Regions from separate parts of the Homo sapiens genome. Here region 1 is linked to region 2. Evidence: promoter capture Hi-C in human tissues and cell types (Jung and others, 2019). All regions are on one chromosome and are shown on one strand. Each heading gives the region's core, a stretch centred on a gene start or on the middle of the fragment in contact. The rest is flanking DNA. Distances are from core to core; before and after follow the strand shown.

Region 1 (5,078 bases), core at 1,955-4,454, 120 kb after region 2:
TTTCTTTTCTTTTTTTTTGTCAATGAGGAATACAAGGCCACTGCCAAAAACATATCCCACACAATCAAACATCAGATGGTGACTCCTTTCCCACAGCTTGTGTGAGTGAAAACAGTGAAATTATACCCATGTTTTCGCGGCGAAGCCCCTGGTGTTCCAGCAGAGGCAAGCCTGGCGCTGGCTCTTGTTCGCCGGCTTTTTGTTCCTGCGCTCGCGGTGTTTTTAGCGCTGGACGCCATTCAGCCGGCATTCAGCATTGTATGTCGCTTCACATATGGTTCATCCGCTCCAAATGTGTGCATGTACCCAGAAAATGCAGCTTTTCATTATGTATTCTCTATGTAACAGAAAAGATTAAGATATAAGCCTGGTGAATGTGGCAGGAATTAGTTGGACAGATGAATAAGGGAAAAATGAATCTGGAATGATGGTGGATTTGGTCTAATGATTGTGGGAGGGCGTTAAGAACTTGCTGGTAGGTTTCAGCCCTTTTAATCCCAGGCTGTGTGTGTATTTTGGCAGGAGAAATGCTCCTTCAGAACTCGATCTTGAAGGGTACAGTAAAAGACAGACGCACGCACACACAGACGCCCACAAACCTTCAGCCTGAGGCGGAGACTTCCATAAGTCTGGGTCCCTGCCCCCTGTGTCTTCAAACTTTCTGAGCGGCTTGGGAGGATTCCATATTTCCAACTTCAGCTCTTAAAATACAAGAAAATAAAAGTGGGACGCCTTCAAGCCATTAATGATGCCTTCCTTTTGCATTTCATTTTATTTTATTCATCTGGACTTATATAAAGGATCCAAGCTAAGAAGGGAGGACTCTCTCAAACAAACTTGAATTGGGACAGTCGACAAAAGTTAAAATGCTTTTAGATGCTTTTGACGTGAGCACCCAAATTAGAGAGAAAAAAAAAGGGAGGGGGGTGTTCATTTATAACGCATAAACTCAGCACCCTTTAAGACTAAAACTATAGTTAGTTAAAAATGCTAGTTGACACGGTTGAGTTTTCAATCCGCAGTTGCAAAAGGTGTATGTGTTTGATAACATTTGTTTTGTGGCTTAATAGGAAGTCAGAACAGAGAAAATTTAAGATTTAGGCTTACGTGCTTCCTACAACGGTTTCCAGAGAAAGATTTTTTTTTCTAGCCAATTTTGATTGAAAATCGAGATTTGCATCACAATGGAGATAGCTCAAAAGTGTAAATACAAAAGGCTGCAACTTCAGAGACTTCTTGGTCAGATGTGTTGTTTTCTGGTATATCATCTCATAAGGGCTTTGGGAAGGGGCTTCTCTCAGATTCAGGCCAGAGGGGGCTATGTTCCCCGTTCATTGCGAAAGGTCACACAGCCAACTCCTTCTGTCAACTCATATAGAACTATTTAATGCGGGGGAAGGGAGTTAGCAATGCTTCTGCTTTTGAGGAAACTGTTTACATAATTTAATTCACAGATATTTATGGTGGGCTGAAAGGGAGCATATTAGACTATCCAATTAATTCACATCAAAAATAAGCCTTTCAGAGATTAACAAAATCAGACAAAATCTACATCCTTGTGTTGTTGCAAATTATAAACATTTTGATATTCCCTCACATAATTGTGGTCCAAAAATTAGACAAATTCCTTTATTGGAGTCCACATTTGCATATCACCATACCAATGAGCAGTAGTAGTATCAATGTTTTTCCTCTTTCAATTGAAACGAATTTGTTTGAATTTTTATTTGTAATGTGATCAATATTTCAGTGATTTAGCTGTCAGGTTCATGTTGTTCTCACAGAAATGTTAAAAGCTTAAAAGTTTCTTTTCCATAACTCGAAATGCAAGGTTATTCTAATTTTTTCCACATTCCTACAATCTTCTCATCCTGTGTGACGACTGTGGAACAGATCAAATTGAGAGCTGCAAAATGTCCTATATCCACTAACATGTTTCTTTTTTCTTTTTACACTCCAGGTTCTATTTTTCTCAGCCTATTCCGGGATCTGGACACATGAGAGAACAAAACATATGACATCAACTAAAACATCACTCGATTTTCACACCAGTTTTTATACAAGTTGATGTCTTTTGATAACCCTTTAGGATGAAAAGTGCTGACCTGTGTCCCGTCTTCGGACTTTATGTCAAAATGTAGTAGCTGGGTGCGTTGGCTCACCCTTGTAATCCCAGCACTTTGGGAGGCCAAGATGGTTGGATCATGAGGTCAGGAGTTCCAGACCAGCCTGGACAAGATAGTGAAACCCCATCTCTGCTAAAAATACAAAAATTAGCCGGGTGCAGTGGCGGGTGCCTGTAATCCCAGCTACCCGGGAGGCTGAGGCAGGAGAATTGCTTCAACCCAGGAGGCAGAGGTTGCAGTGAGCCGAGATTGCGCCACTGCACTCCAGCCTGGGCAACAGAACAAGACTCCAACTCCCCCCCAAAAAAAAAAAAAAAAAAAAAAGTTAGTTAAATGGAGCCATTTCCCTCCCTGGCTGTTTTATTAATATAATCCCTGGGTAACAGATAATTGTTGGTATATCTCTGCCTTAGGTTGTTACCATTCTTGTACAAGTTGGACTGAACCTAGCAAGGCTGCTATCTCTGCGTCCCAATTTAGTCATTTGTTGCCACACAGTTTCTGTGTTTTCTTTCCTCTCCTGTTCCTTGCAAGTGGCACAGTGAGGCATAAAATTTTTCCTTTAGCCTAGATAATCTGGCGTAATTTTCCTCAATGCTTTCCCTTTCCACAATGGGAGTCAGGTTTCCATTTGAAACAGTTTACTTCTACATAATAAGCCTTCTCTCTCTCTCTAACTCTCTTATTCTCTTTTTTTCAATCCCAGAAAATTTCATTGCAGTTTAGAATCTCAATAAACAGGCTGCTGTTGCCATAAACAATCAGGGGAAAAAAAGTGGTGTTGGCAGAAAATTTAGATCATAATTTGTCTGACGGGACAAAACAGGCATGCCCTCTGCTTTGTCTTTGTGTATATTTGGGGTTATTATCAGTGTTCTGGCTTCTAAAGCATCTTTCTGTGTTAAATACGGGGCTGGACCGTGGAAAATCAAAAAACAAACTGGCATTTGGAAGGGCAATAACTTTCCTCGAAGAAAGGAGACAGCTACCGTTGGCCTATTATTTCAAACTTACTTCTGGTTCTCCACATCTTCCAAGGTAACAAATGAAGATGGTCACCCACCTTCAGTCTCGCAGCAGCAAGAAAGCAACAGAAGCCTTCTCTCCAGGAATTAGTATAGGAAACCTGTTTGCTTTTAAAGTTCCGAGTCCTCCCATAGAGATGAAAGGGGAATTAAAGTGAGTTACCCCTGAGGAATCACCAAAGGAAAAACGGGTTGCTTTATCTGGGCTCTTCAGAACTCTTTAAGACTTGAAGATCTGGATTGAAATCCGTATAATACGTTCATTCACTAAGTCAAGATTAATAGCGTTGGTGTTGTGTCCTCCGGGGAGGGCCTCCAGAAGGCATTTGGAAATAAAGGTTGTCTTACTTTGAAATGCTTCCTCCACAGCACAGAAAAATTGATTTTTCCCCCAGTAAATATTCTTTTGGCATCTGATTTAAAGTCACTAAATGCTTTCCTCGCTAAAGATACCTTTCTCTGTCATCTCTTTCCGTCTCAAATATTGCCGGCTCTCACTGCTTTCTCCCTTCCCTGGCATAACTCTGGTTACAAATAGCCACTAGTGAGTGATATTTTGCTCTCACTTCTTAGCCATCCTATATTTCAAGGTTATCCCATTCTTTAACACTGCCCTTCAGGGTTTTGATAACAATCCTTGAAATCGCTGTATTTAGGACCAGAAATCCTCTAAGCTTGCTTTTCTTCTTAAACATGTTTTAAAATAAAAGTGGAGGGAAATCATTCTGAATTAAAATAGATTTCATATTAAGTTAGTAGCAAAAATGTGGTTTTATTTGCTTTCTGCTTTTTGCCCTGGAAAATGGGATACAGTAAAAATAAAACAGAACCCAAAGCACGATTAAATGAAGCAGGTGGCTCTCTGCAGGTAGTAAAGCAAAGAAGCAACTTGCTTTGGAAAGTTACATTCTGAAATGTACATGACTGTTGGGCAAGCTATGAAGCCTGCTGCATACTTTCAGAAGGACCCCTTCTGCAGGAACCTTCCAAATACAGTTTCAGAATTTTTTTTTCCTTTCACAATCTTTCATTCTTTCTTTGCATCTGGTTATGGTCCATTTTTAGTGGTTACTTTTTGCACGTTGGGAAGATTTTACTTTTCAAAGGCCTAAAACTGATGGCAATGCCTGTTGGCTCATTCTAAACCACCCAGACTGCGACCAGGGTTTCAGTCTGGGTTGTGCATGGGGCGATAAATCCTGGCGAAGCAGCCCTAATCCTCTACAAACCCCTGCTGCAAATTCTGTCCCTGCCATTGTGTTTTCTAACCAACTTGGGGGAATACCATATTGATCCTAAAAATGGGCAGCTTCTTAGCTTGCAAGTGGCTCCCTTTAAGAAGCACAGAGAACACGGCCTCAGGAAGCAGGGATTGCATCTCAGGGCAAAAGAAAGGGATGAGGTAAGACCCCGCAGAGGAATGCTGCCTGATGTGTGTGCTGGTTATTGTGAGTTGGTTCAGTGTTTCTGTCAGCTGTTTTACTGGTGTCTGATTAATCCCGCTGGTCACCAGGGGTAAGCCAGGGTTTCATCTGATCTAAGAACAAAACTTTTCCTCTTTTGGACAGAAGGTGGTCTGTCCAGGTCAGGGTATGGGTCACTGGAAGGGCAGCCTTCGGAAGCCTGCGTTTCACAGCAACCACTTGTTACAATTAGTTTAAAAAAAAAAAAAAAAAAAAGCCAACATGCGGTGAATTGACACTTTTGTGGGTCCCTGAGTCTGGACGGTGCAATTGTTCTGGAAAACAATGTCAGGATCTTCATTTGAAAGTGGAGAGGGTACAATGGTATTTCAAGTAGCAAAATCCCCACGCTCTGAGCCATGTGGGGATTTCATTTCCTTCAGTGTCTAGAACCCTATTCCCCTTCTCTGTACCAAATCCAAGTGTATTAAATGAAAATGCACAAATGAAGAAGGGTTAAGTTG
Region 2 (4,937 bases), core at 1,984-4,483:
CAGAAGGCCAGAGTTCAAATCTACTTTTTATAAAAGTGGTGACTTTGCTGGTGGCAGAGTCTAGGAAGCATGAGAAATCCTCTTTTGGAATGAGTTGGTGCACAGAGCACCTTCTCCCATGCCCTGTCCTGACTTCTCCTTAAGGAAATAGACACAGCATGGTAGCCGGGCAATGCCATCTCTCCAGCCACCTCCCACCTCCTTCCCCCACCTCCAAAGTGGTGCTCATTTTCTCTAAATGTGTATATGCCTCAGATAAACCAACATGGATAAAATTGAGTAAGTCATCTCTGGGTTTTCTTTAATTTTCCTCAGGTTAAAGGGGACACTACTTCTCTACTACTCCCCTACATTAAACAGTGGTTGGGTTTCATTAATAATTATGCAGTGTTTCATTATTGCAATGTGAGCAGGTCAGCCTTCCAAATTCTTTTTAAGAGCACCAAACAGACAGAAGAGCTTTCTTCACCTCTTAGGTGAAGACAATTCCAACCTGATTTAAATGATAAGGGGTAGGTGGGTGCAGCAGCGGGAAGCTCATGCTTGTGTGGTATTAAGCTTCTGTCCAAGGATATAGAAAAGGTGGATATCCTGGAAGGATGTTGAGCTACAATTTTATGATAAAGGTATTGCTTAACCCATTTTCCAGGGGATGAAGTTGTAGTTAAAAAAGACCTATGCCTGAAGCTTGGCAAAGAATGAATTCCTGGAATTGCCTCTCTCCCTTCTCTATCCCATTCTCTATCCCACCCACCCACTTACCTATAATCCTCATATTTCCCACGAATGCCTGAACTTGAACTACAGTTGCCTGTTCATTGGATTATTTTACAAATCAGGAAGTCACATTTTAAAACCTGGGACCCCGGTCATTTACCTACCTTCACCCCAAGGTTCTAAATCCACTAGGATACAAGGACTTTTTTATTACCAAACAAATCAGACAAAAAATGTAAAAAATCAGACTTTAAATGTTTTATTTTGTTGATTCTGTACACCGTCAGGAAACAAGGTTAGAAGTAAAATAAAGTGCCAGTTAAATTCGGCTACTACCAACAACCAAAACCTTAAACATAGAAAATCAAAGTAAACTGCGGAAAGGTCATAGCATAACCTTGGGTAAAGGAATTTGTTAACGTCTGTAACAAATCGAAACTGACTACGTATGTAGCTCTTCAACTGCAAGACGGCGAGAAGGAAGACCTGCGGGCCGCGCTGGTCAAGGGCCCGGCCCGCTGAGGAACAGCGGAAAGCGCCTTCCCGCCGTCGCCACCGCAGCTGGGATCCGCCGAGCAGCGGGCGGTTCAGGGCTCCCGGTACTCCTGCGTGTTAATGAGAACGTTCATTAGCGCTCTTGACAGGACGGCGACTGTGAGACGCCTGGTTACCTATTTTAGTAAATCGGGAACACTGGATGCAAGGCGGTTGGTTTTCGTTTTTAAGCAAGCTTAAATGTTGGTTACGCTACTTTTGGGGAAAGGGAAACGAAAGGTGAATCTCGAGTTCTAAGTTGCTTTCTAAGAAACCCCCAGGATTTAAGAGCGAAAACTCTCTGCGACAAAACACTGGATACGCGAGTCTTAAATACAGCTCTCCAAACAGCTGGTCTACAAAAGTGGACCCACGTCCCAACCCAGCGCACCCTGCGTTGTCCTCGCCCCTACCCACCGCACCCCGACGCCGACCACCTGTCCGCCGAGGGTCCGTCCGTCTGCCACGTCCCAGACCGTCTGCACCGCCTAACTGGTCTTTTTCTGCCTCTTGAGTTCCGGCAGCCTCCTTTGATAGGACCTGGCCGGCGGGAACAAGGGCGCCCGTGGCCTCTGGCGGAGGAGAAGGAAAAGAACCACCCCTCCGCCCCCGCCACTGCTCGAGCGCAGCCCCTAGTACTGGGAGCCGGCGTGCTCCGCTCCGGGGAGGTAGCGCTCGGGGATGGCCTCTCGCTGCACCCGGGGCGCGCCAACCACGGCAAGGCGCCCTAAGTTCTACATCGGCCCCGCGAAGCGCGCAACTCCAGGGACAAGGAGAGAGATGTGCTGGGTGAGAGCGAGCACTTTCTGCCTAAAGCCGCTGGAACCGACCCAGAACCCCAAACTGCCCCGAGGCGCCATCGAACATCCGCTCTGGTCACTTTAACGTCCCAGGGGTGGGGGCGGGGAAGGGGGTGCCCGACAGTCCCTTCCTCTGGACTGGAAGGTTCGAAATGCTTTCCTTGCTCGGCCTCGCTCTCCCAGACGCAGGGAGCAGGGGCGCGGAGAAGCTGAGCGAAGGGAGGCCGGGCCGAGGTCGCGCCCCAGGCCCAGGCCCGCCCTCACTTGGAGAATTGCGCCTGCACGGCGGCCAGGCCCAGGCTGGCCGGGACCAGGTGCGGGAACTTGCACACGGCGCAGGTGCAGAGGCCGGGGCCGCCTGCGCCGCCGCCGGGGAGAGCGAACTGGCCGCACGGCGGCTCGTCCAGCGCCAGCGACAGGTACTTGGCGGGGCGCAGCGCGTCGGGGGGTCCTACGGCGCCGGGCGCCAGCAGCACGGAGCCGGGCGCGGCGGCGAGCAGGGGCAGCCCGGCCAGCAGCAGGCGCGGCGCGGCGGGCCCGGCGCCCTCGCCCAGCGCGCGGCGCAGCTCCTGCAGCGAGCTGCCCAGCAGTAGGATGTAGTTGCGGGCGAGCAGCAGCGTGGCTATCTTGGAGAGCTTGCGGCCGGGCGCGCCCTGGCAGTGCGCCGCTGAGTAGGGCAGGATGACCTCGCGCAGGGCGTCCATGGCCAGGTTCAGGTCCTGCATGCGCTTCCGCTCGCGGCTGTTGATCTTGCGCCGCAGCTGCTGCTGCTGCTCCTCCTTGGCGTCCGGCCGGGCGCTGCCGCCCGGGTGCGCGCCTGACCCGGGCCCGGGGCCTGGAGGCTCGGCCGGCGCCTCCGGCTTCTCGCGCGCAGCCTTGGGGAGGAGGGGGGCCGTCGTGGAGGAGGAGGAAGTGGAGGAGGTGGAGGAGGTGGAGGAGGAGGAGGAGGAGGGCGGCTGCCTGTAGCCCACCAGCTCGTAGAGGGAGGCCCCGAGCTGCAAGTCTCCGGGCCGCTGTGGCCGCAGCATGGTCCCGGGGACCGCGTTCACGCGCGCCTGGGAAACCGCATAGTACATCTGGGAGGCGGTGGGGGCGGCCGAGGACGCCCTTCAGGAACGCCCTGGGGTGGGCCGGTCGGCAGGCCGCCCCTCCCCGCGGACCTGCGCGCGGGGAAACGATGGTGGGGCCCTGGCCCGCGCCCTACCCCTTTAAACCCGGCTTGGGAACCTGCGGGGCAGCGGGTGGCGGGGCGCAGCCAATGGAGGCGCGAGGCCGGGCGCAGCCGCGTGTTCATTGGCTGCTTGTGCCGGGGCCGCGCGGAGGTGCGGCTGGCACCGCTTTAGGAGGTTATTGTGAGCGCCTGTGCCAGCCGCGCGGGACAGGCCCCCTGAGCGGAGTAAGGGCGCCTTTTCAAGGCAAGCGGGGCTGTTGAAGGAGGACTGGTCGCACTGGTCAGGCTGCAACTCACGTGCCTTCCTCCAGCAACTGTCTACTCAAAAACAACCTCCCTCATATTTTTTTTTAACTGTGATCACATATTCATAACATAAAATTTACCGTCTTATGTTTAGAGTACTGTTCAGTAATGTTATATGCATTAGTGTGCACATTAAATTGATTTAAATTAAATTCACATTGTTGTGCAACCCATCTCCAGAACTCTTTTCAACTTGCAACCCTGAAGCTCCACCCATTAAACAACTCCCCACTCCCCCCGACCCAAGTTCCTGGAATTCACTCTTCTGTTCTGTCTCTATGAATTTGTTCTACTCTAGGTCCCTCATATAAGTAGAATCATACAGCACTTGTCTTTTAGTGACTGGCTTCTTTCACTTAGCATATTGTCGTCAAGGTTTATCCATGTTGTAGCATGTATCAAAGTTTCTTCCTTTTCAAGGCTGAATAATATTCCAGTATATGGATATACCACATTTGGTTTATCCATTCATTCGTTGATGGACATTTGGGGTGCTTTTGGTTGTTGCGAATTATGCTGCTATGAACATGAGTGTATCATGTTTTTTTTTTCTTAAAATACATAATTTCCTGCCAGGTTCAGGTCGCTAAATTTCTGGACTAAATGACAAGTAGCATTAGGATATTTCCTCCCTGCTGCTCCCAACCTCCTTCCCCATCCCTCTGATTGAAAGGTCTTTAGGGACAAAGGAGCCTTTGGGTCGGGTTTCTATCCTCCCCGAAAGGGATGGTCTATCAGCAACTTGACATTTGCTTAAGCAAAAGTCACTCAGAAATTGGCCTCTTATTAGAAACAAAACAAAACACCCACATAGTCCTATCGGTTGAGGGTGGGAATGAATCATTTTATTTGCCAAATAGAATAGCATTACTTGGTGTCTATGGACATTTTCTGCCCCCAGCACCAGTGCATGCTACTATAACTTGTCAATGTCCTGGGGAAGAGGGCATCTTGGTGGCTGTGCTTGCTGGTTTCAGGGCTGCTTTGTTCTGGTTTTCTTCCACCAATATTTGCCACATGGGTTCACTCTGATCTTTGCTTCTGACCCCCAGCTCTGCCTGTAGCATCCTGCCTATGCCTCAGGTTCAGCTCCAACCTTGCTTTCTTCTGGAAGCCTTGGTGATTTCTCCTCTTCCTCCTTTCATGACTCTTGGCAAACCATTGATAGGATTTCTTCATAGCCTATTGTGTTATGTAGATACCATCTCTGCATTTGGCTATGATTGTTTTACGGTAGGGACCACCTGCTCATTTCTCCATCTTCCTGAAGCCTAGCACAGTGCTTGGCACTTACTGTGTGTCCTGGAGGTCTCTAAAGATGGTCTGAAATCTCCCTTAGCTCAGAGGCTCATCCCTTAAATGCACAAACTCCTGGCAATGCTCTAACCCAAGCATTTTCCTAAAGGTTT

Evidence for each region. Contacts are between HindIII fragments. The study calls those that stand out against the background at their distance.
Region 1: a fragment that was not itself captured here is called in contact with the fragment with the promoter of OLIG1 in region 2 in 2 of the 25 tissues and cell types used here (IMR-90 fibroblasts and dorsolateral prefrontal cortex).

The regions. Positions count from the first base shown.
Region 1 is chr21:32,950,645-32,955,722 of GRCh38, reverse strand. No RefSeq gene overlaps it. Among named protein-coding and RNA genes, the nearest start is that of LINC01690, 5.7 kb to the left of the region's middle. The HindIII fragment of the contact is 5,013 bases long and covers 698-5,078 here.
Region 2 is chr21:33,068,437-33,073,373 of GRCh38, reverse strand. OLIG1 (oligodendrocyte transcription factor 1) reads right to left here and starts at 3,233. Exons shown (of 1, transcript NM_138983.3): 1 at 961-3,233. The coding sequence starts at 3,127. The coding sequence ends at 2,312. The HindIII fragment of the contact is 10,124 bases long and covers 1,068-4,937 here.